Regions from separate parts of the Homo sapiens genome. Here region 2 is linked to region 1. The links are contacts of gene promoters, found by promoter capture Hi-C in blood cells and fetal thymus (Javierre and others, 2016). All regions are on one chromosome and are shown on one strand. Each heading gives the region's core, a stretch centred on a gene start or on the middle of the fragment in contact. The rest is flanking DNA. Distances are from core to core; before and after follow the strand shown.

Evidence for each region. The method cuts DNA at HindIII sites, captures the fragments that hold promoters and counts their contacts. A CHiCAGO score of 5 or more calls a contact.
Region 2: a contact is called between a fragment that was not itself captured here and the fragment with the promoter of ENDOD1 in region 1, in 1 of 17 cell types (activated CD4 T cells). The highest score is 6.0, in activated CD4 T cells.

What each region holds. Positions count from the first base shown.
Region 1 is chr11:95,087,551-95,092,010 of GRCh38, forward strand. It overlaps ENDOD1 (endonuclease domain containing 1), which reads left to right and starts at 2,296. Exons shown (of 2, transcript NM_015036.3): 1 at 2,296-2,677. The coding sequence starts at 2,378. RefSeq lists enhancers at 1,698-1,977, 2,048-2,107 and a silencer at 2,118-2,547. The HindIII fragment of the contact is 8,670 bases long and covers 1-3,243 here.
Region 2 is chr11:96,432,777-96,436,921 of GRCh38, forward strand. No RefSeq gene overlaps it. Among named protein-coding and RNA genes, the nearest start is that of JRKL, 45 kb to the left of the region's middle. The HindIII fragment of the contact is 899 bases long and covers 2,319-3,217 here.

The DNA.
Region 1 (4,460 bases), core at 1,046-3,545:
GAAGCCTACAAGGATGAGATGACTGAGATACTAGTACCAGATGATCAGGGTCATCATCCAGATCAAAGGGGACTTCAAGTCTAGCCTCTTCTGTGACATCACACTAAATGTGTCCCCTCCTTTTTTTAAAAAAACTAAGATACAAACTTTGGTTTCATTTCTGGGACCAAACATAGTCAACATTTTCCGGAATTAAAACCTGTAAGAAATTTGTTCTTAAGTTCCAATGTATAATCTCTTGAAGAGCTTCCTTCTTTATGGGCTCACCTTACAGATGCGCTGTGAGTTAAAAGAAAAGGCCAGGCTTGGGAAGCAGAGAGACCTGTTTCAAATCTGTCTTAGGACTCACTGGCTGTGCCAGCTTAGGCCAGAATCAACAGGCTCTGGTCTCAGTCCCTGTAGTGGCACACTGGGGAAACAGATGACATCGTAAGATGAGCACAGGCCCTGGCCCTGGGTAGCTGCCTTGACCCTATCTCTGCTGCCACCATCCTACCATCCTGGTCCAAGCTACCATCTCTTATCTGGATTGTGGCAATTATGGGGTGTTTTTCTTTTCTTTTCCTTTTCTTTTTTGAGACAAAGTCTGGCTCTGTTGCCCAGGCTGGAATGCAGTGGCACAATTTTGGCTCACTGCAACCTCCGCCTCCTGGGTTCAAGCGATTCTCCTGCCTCAGCCTCCCAAGCAGCTGGGATTACAGGTGCCCGCCACCACACCCAGCTAATTTTTTTGTGTTTTTAGTAGAGACGGGTTTCACCAAGTTGGCCAGGCTGGTCTCAAACTCCCGACCTCAGGTGATCCGCCTGCCTCAGCCTCCCAAAGTGCTGGGGTTACAGGTGTGAGCCACCCATTTATTCTGTGCCACTTCAATCTACCAGTCTCTTCCCTGATAGCAAAAAGAATCGAGTCACCACCTTTAAAAGATGAAAATCCTCAACATGATTTACAATATTTTTTCCAAACTGCAGGTCATGAGCCATTAGTGGCTCATAGAAACAATTTAGTGGGTCAACACCAGCACTTTTTTAAAAAAGTGAAGTAGAACAGAAATATGAAATTGCAATGCCAATCATAAGCATAAGAATTATTTCATCAAACTTTTCTCATTATGGGCCTTCTCAAAAAGTGTTTGAAGGCCTCTGGCCTATAATAACCTGAGTAATATGACCCCTGCCTCCTCCTTTAGCCCCACTTCCCATCATCCCCCACGCGGTTCTCCGCGCTTTACCCACACTAGCCTTCCTTAAATTCCTCCAATACATCATGTTCCCTTCTGTGGGAGACCACTTAGCACATGGTTTTCCTCCTTGCCTAGTTAATGTCATCCTCCAGGTCTCAGCTCAGATGCCACTTCTTCAGGCAAACCTTCCCGGATTACATCCTGAACCCCTGTAGCTGTCAGGGTCTCACAGATCTGTGTTCAGTTTTTAGTTATCCCTTTAATAGCATGTTTCCTCGGTTAATGACAAACTTTCCCACTAGGCTGTCTTTGTGACCGCAGGAGCCCTGCTCTTGTTTACCCCTGTGGTAATCCAGTGCCTATCTCAGGCTGGCACCTAGGCATTCAGAGGGATAAATGAAGGAAAGAATTGGCCAACCTGTTGACCAATGACGTTGGCTGGCCTCCTTCCTTGCTTGGTATCGGTTTTGTTTCTAACACTTGCACCAAGAAAACCACACAGGGTTATACTGTCTGCCTAGTTTAGGAACTTCCTTTAACAGTATTTCTTTACTCTCTGAGTTTCTGGTGAGCTAAAAAAACATAACAAAAAACAAAAAACTCCATCAAAATTGTATGCGTGTGCTGGTCGTTGAGTACTTCGGTGGAGAGTGGGAGACGCATCTTCATGAAATTTCAGAGGGGAACTCTGCCCATCCACTCCGAACCAGCCGCAGCTCCACGAGCATCTCACGCCACCCCTCTGCATCACCAGGGCGGCCGTGGGGCGCGCGCGATCAGCAGGCTTCTTGGCGCCCAGTCCATGCGACTATCTCTTCCCAGCCCCGGGACTAGGCCCGCCCCACTCGGATTCTCCACTCTTGGTAGCGCGCGTCCCCCGGACTGCTGAGACCAGGCGGCGCGGAGGCAGGTGACCCGCGTCTCCAGTCCCGGGCGCAGCCCAGGGTACGTTGTCAGCATCGCGGAGCGCGGCCCTGGGCCTCTGCAGCCATCTTCAGGGAGGGAGGCGCGGCCTCCCGACGCGGACCCGCCCCCGCCGCCCGGGCCGCCCCGCCCGGCTCCGCAGAGCGCCGCGCCTAGGTTGCGACTTCCCTTCCCTACCCTGCTCGGCTGCGTAGTGCGCTCCCCGCCCAGCCTGCAGAGCTCGCGCCGCGGCAGCCCAGCCGCTCGGCCCCGCCGCGCTCGCAGAGGCCGCCATGGGCACCGCGCGCTGGCTCGCGCTGGGCAGCCTCTTCGCCCTGGCTGGGCTGCTGGAAGGCCGGCTCGTGGGCGAGGAGGAAGCCGGCTTTGGCGAATGTGACAAGTTCTTCTACGCCGGGACCCCGCCTGCGGGGCTGGCGGCCGATTCCCACGTGAAGATCTGTCAGCGCGCGGAGGGTGCTGAGCGCTTCGCCACCCTCTACAGCACCCGGGACCGCATCCCCGTGTACTCCGCGTTCCGCGCCCCGCGCCCTGCGCCCGGCGGCGCCGAGCAGCGATGGCTGGTGGAGCCGCAGGTAAGCGAAGTGGTTCCCGAGCCGGGCTGCGGGCGCCGGAGACCGTGCCGCTGGACATGCCCCCAGTTGCAGCTACCGCGAGGGGCGGGCCGGGAACAGCAATCCCTACGCCTTCGGTGCCTTGGGCCAAGAAACCCGGGTTCCAGGTCCACCCTGTTGCGTCCCCGGAGTTAGCCTGCCTCGCCCCTGTCGAGCTACAATAAGAGCCTGGCGATCTGCGAGCCTTCACTTCATGAGCTGCAGGGCGGGAGGTCCCCTGTGGGAGGAGGTTCTCCCTGCATTTCTGAGCAGACATCCGCAGTGTTTCATTCCTGAATGGTGAAGAGCTTGATACAGAGACCCTGGAGACCGTTCAGATCCGCAGAAAGCCTAGGCTGGGCGCTCACAGGCCTTCGTGCAACTTATTGCCATAGCACTCATTTGGAGGTGGGTAGGTGGGCATTTTCATCCCCATTTTACAGAAGAGGAGATAAACCCAGGGGGTGAAGAGACATATGGAAGACTACCCAGTTAGTAAGATGGGGCAGGTCTCTGTCTAGAAATTCACTGCCTTTTCTACTAAGTAAAGCTTCTCTTCTGCAGAGCTCATCCTAGCCTGAAAATCCTTCCTCTACCACGGCGTTGAGTAAATTCGATCTGCGGTTGTGTTGAATTAGAACAATGAAATAAAGATACAGATTTTTAGAAACGCAATGGGGTAGTTAAAAATGATAGGGAAACATTGACTACCTCCAACTGATGGAAAGATAAGCCAGTTTTTCCTGACTCCTCATATCTATATTATCATACCACTAGGAAATCGTGTCACCTCTCATGGTGTTCTGTCCCGTCTGGTAAAGGTGACCAAACACTTGAGAAGCCCTCAGAGTCTTCCGAACCTGCTGGCCTGCTCTTAATACCTCTCCTCAGTTGGCCTCCTCTCTAGAACACCCTGCCAGACTCCCCTTTGCCCTCTCACCAGCCTCCCACCCCTGCCCAGGCTGCTGGGGGAAGAACTGACCCAACGCTCTCCCTTTCCTGACGGCCACAGCTGCCCAGGACCACACCAGTGGACAGGAGGCTGGCTTTCAGGTGCTTTATTCAGAGCCTGTGGGTTGTAATCTCATTCAGATATTTCTAGCTCTGAGGTCTTGGCCAGGTCTCAAACAATCTGCACCTAGTTTTCTTATCTTCCTCACATCCTTCCACCTACCTCAACTGTTGATAACACTTGTCGAGATCAGGCATGTGAAAAAGACGTTGTCAGTTGCACACACAAGACACATTTAAATCCAAAATTAGTTTTCCACCAGCTGCACCCCTAGAGCTCACAGGGTGTTCCCCACCTCTCATCTTGCATTGTGATTGTGTGCCTGCGAAGAAAACAAATGAGCTAGTTCTTTCCCCTTGATCTCATGGACAGCTTGGGGAGACAGAACATACGTCTGAGGAAATCATGGGAATGGATGCTAAACAAATTTCAGTTAAATTCAGAACACATTTAGTGACTCCTGCTGTGTGCCAGATATTTGGGACCAAGAGATCTGAGTGCAGTTCTGGAACAAAGGCTACCTGATCTGCAGGTGGAGTTTGCTGGGTGGAGAGGTGGTGTAGTATCTGATTAGAGCCATGCTATGTGGGTTCATATCCTAGTTGCTCCACTGACTAGCTATGAACTTGGGCAGGTTAAATTGGAGATAATAGCATAGGGTGGTGTGAAGATTTAATGAGTTACCATATATAAAGTTCTCAGGTGTGTGACACATGAGTACTAAGTACTAGCTGTTGCTATGACCTAAGCAAA
Region 2 (4,145 bases), core at 1,518-4,017, 1.3 Mb after region 1:
ATAGCAAAGACATGGAATCAACCTAAATGCCCATCAGTGATAGAATGGATAAAGAAAATGTGGTACATATACACCATGGAATACTATGCAGCTATAAAAAAGAATAAGATCACATCCTTTTCAGGAACATGAATAGAGCTGGAGGCCATTATCCTTAGCAAACTGATGCAGGAACAGAAAAACAAATACTGCAGATTCTCACTTATAAGTGGTAGCAAAATGATGAGAACACATGGACACAGAGGGGAACAACAGACATTGGGGCTTACTGCAAGGTGGAGGGTGGGAGGAGGCAGAGAATCAGGAAAAATAACCAGTGGGTTCTAGGCTTAACACCTGGGTGATGAAATGATCAATACAGCATACCCCCATGACACAGTTTACCTATATAATAAACCTTCACAGTTACCCCTGAACTTAAACATTAAAAACGAATACAATTAAAAATAAAACAAAATTTACATAACTTTCAATCTAGTATTTTTGTGTTTAGGAATTTATCCTAAGGAAAGAATCATGGTTATGTGCCAAGATTGTGTAACAAAGACATTGATTGTAATAACAAAACCAGCAAACAACCTAATTGCATTTAAAAAAAAATTTCAACTTCTACTTTAAGATTCAAGGGGTACACGTGCAGGTTTGCTACATGGATATGTTGTATAATGCTGAAGTTTGGGGTACAATTGATCTTGTCACCCAGTAGTGATCACAGTACTGCTAATAATATGTCACTGGTTATATAAATTAATTTTGACATACCATGTAATCATTAAGCGATATTGCAGAAGAATGTTTACTAGCATAGAAAAAAAATCAATTTTTGACATGAGAAAAGAGGTCACAAAGTGTTTGTAATTCTTGTTCTACTTCTCTGTTTAATAAATACATACATCCCCTAAAATGGTAGGAAGAAGGATTTACAAACGATCTGTAGTAATATTTGGGTGGTGGGCCTAATAGTAATGCTTTTTTTTCATAGATATATTTTGTAGTTTTCTATAGTTTGCATTTATAAATTGTATAATAAAACCCCACAAAATTATATATTTGTTAATTTTTCTTGTAAGAAATTCTTATAAAATTGAAAATTCAGGGTTAAGTGTCCTGGTATATTTGTAACAAGTGTTCTGAGCTAAACCCAGTTGAAGACTGAGAATCCTTGTCAGAATCAATTACCAGTTACTGAGAGAAAAAGCTTTGGTTTCTGGGGCAAGTTGTGGACAGGCAGGCAGAAATCAACCTCAGCTCTTATCAGTGCTGAGCTCTCCCTCCTAGGCTCTGTGCTTGGGAAAAGCTTCCTTTAGCAGAGGCTGCTTTGGGAAAGAAGAATATATCATACCTGGAGCTTCAGCAGAAGTGGAAAATGGGTTCTGTGATCTTTAAAATATTGTAGGGAATAATAAAGAACTGTCATGTCAAAGCTGCAAATCATCTGTCTCCTGCAAGAGGCTCTGATATGGATGCATATTTGCTGTGGAATGTTCTTTCTTATCAGAAAGTCACTTGTGTATGCAAATGTAGAACAAAACGTAATGAGAAAAAAGTTTGAAAAATGGCAAATAAACTCGGTTAAGGTTTAAATAACTCTTTGGGATAATGCAAAAATTTGTCTTTATATTGCAGGCAGAGTTGCTTCTCTGCATAGCTGTTTCCTTTGGAGAGAGATTTCTTCCCTATGTTTGTAGTTTTTAATTTTAAAAATGTTATTTATTTATTTTTTAATTAACAAAGATTGTACACATTTACTGTGCACAACATGATGTTTTAAAACCTGTATACATTGTGGAAGGCTAAATCAAGCTAATTAATATGTATTACCTCACATACTTATCATTATTTTTTGTGGTGAGAACACCAAATATACTCTTTTGGCAATTTTCAATCACACAATACATTATTATTAACTATAGTTGCCATGCTGTACAATAGATCTCTTGAACTTATTCCCTTTGTCTAACTAAAATTTTGATCTTCTCAATCCCAGACACTGCCCTAGCCCCTGTGGACAATCATTCTACCCTCTGCTTCTATAAGTTTGACTTTTACATTATATATATAAGTTTTTGTCTTCAGTGCCTGGCTTATTTCACTTAAAATAATGTCCTCCAGGTTCATACATGTCATTACAAATATTAGGATTTCTTCATTTTTTAATGGCTGAATAGTATTCTGCCTTGTTATTCTGTTTTGCATTACTATAAAAGAATACCTGAGACTGAATAATTTATAAAGAAAAGAGGTTTATTTGGCTCATAGTTCTGCAGGCTGTACACGAAGCATGGCACCAGCATGTGCCTCTGGTGAGGTCCTCAGGAAGCTTATTATCATGGTGGAAGGCAAAAGGGGAGCAGGCATCTCATGGCAAAAGAGGGAGCAAGACAGACAGGAGCAAGAGAGATATCATATTCTTTTAAACAACCAGCTCTTGAATGAGCTCATTACTGGGTGGAGGGTACCAAGACGTTCATGAGGGAATCTGCCCCCTTGACCCAAATATCTCCCACTGGGTCCCACCTCCAACATTGGGGATCACATTTCAACATGAGATTTGGAGGAGACAAATATCCAAACCATATCATCTACTGTGTATATATACCACATTTTAAAATCCATTCATTCGTTAATGGACACACAGGTTGATTCCATGTCTTAGCTATTGCGAATAATGCTGCAACTAACATGGAAGCACAGATCTCTCTTGAACATACTGATTTCACTTCATTTAGACATAGATCAAGAAATGGGATTGCTGGATCATATAATAATATAATGGTTCCATTTTTAATTTTCTGAGGAATCTCTCAACTGTTTTCCATAACGGCTATACTAGGTTACATTTCATTTATACCAACTGTGTGCAAGGGTTCTCTTTTCTCCACATCTTTGCCAACACTTGTCTTTTTATCTTTTTGATAATGGCCATTCTAATAGTTGTGAGGTGATATCTCATTGTGGGTTTCATTAGCACTTTCCTGATTAGTAATGAGCATTTGTTCACATACCTGTTGTCCATTTGTATATCTTCTTTTGAGAAATGTCTATTCAGGTCCTTTGTCCATTTTAAAATCAGATTATTCGCTTTCTTGCTATTGAGTTGAATCTCTTACATATTTTGAATATTAATCACTTACCAGATGTGTGGTTTGCAAATATTTTCTCCCATTCTGTAGATTTTCTCTTTACTCAGTTGATTGTTTCCTTTGCTATATAGAGAAGCTTCTTAGTTTGGTGTAATTCTATTCCATTTTTGCTTTTGTTGTCTTGCTTTTGTGATTATATCAAAAAAATCATTGCCCAGATCAATGTCATGAAGCTTTTTTCCTATGTTTTCTTCTAGAAGTTTTAGAGTTTCTGATCATATATTTCAGTTTTTATTCGACTTTGAGTTGGTTTTTGAATATGATTTGAGATACAGGTCCAATTTTATTCTTCTGCATGTGGATATTTAATTTTTACAACACCATTTATTGAAGAGACTGTCATTACATCATAGTGCGTTCTTGGCATTTTTGTCAAAAGTTAATTGACCATAAATGTGTGAATTTATTTCTGGGCTCTCTATTCTGTTTCATTGGTCTACATGTCTGTTTTTATGCCAGTACCACACTGTTTTGATTGTAGCTTTGCAGTATGTTTTGAAATCAGATAGTCCTTCAGTATTGTATTTAAATTGCAACATGCTTCCACTGTGTGTGTGTGTGTGTGTGTGTGTGTGTGTGTGTGTGTGTAGATGTGGGTGGAAATGTGCTTATTTTTATTTGTTTATATTAGAGTCGTTGGTTAGCGAAGTCAGGAGTTCAGACGAAAACAAAAACAAAAACAAAACTGCAACAGATGAAATGCAAGCAGAGGAAAGACCATAAAAGAGAACTAAGCTGGTTTGTAGATGCTCAACATCCATTGGAGTATAAATACACTATATATAATGGAGAAATGTTAAAAATGAAAACCATTGTCTTTTTTTTTTTTTTTTTTTTTTTTTACTGTGCATGGAAGTGAGATGTAAAGAAAAAAAATTTTCCTTTTCTGTGAATATTGCTTGAGATGAAGCTGATGCAGCTGTGATGAGATTGTCTGCTATGATTGTTGGGGTCACAGGACTGACTTCCATGGGTGCCAAGTGTACTTGCCCCTGAAGGAGA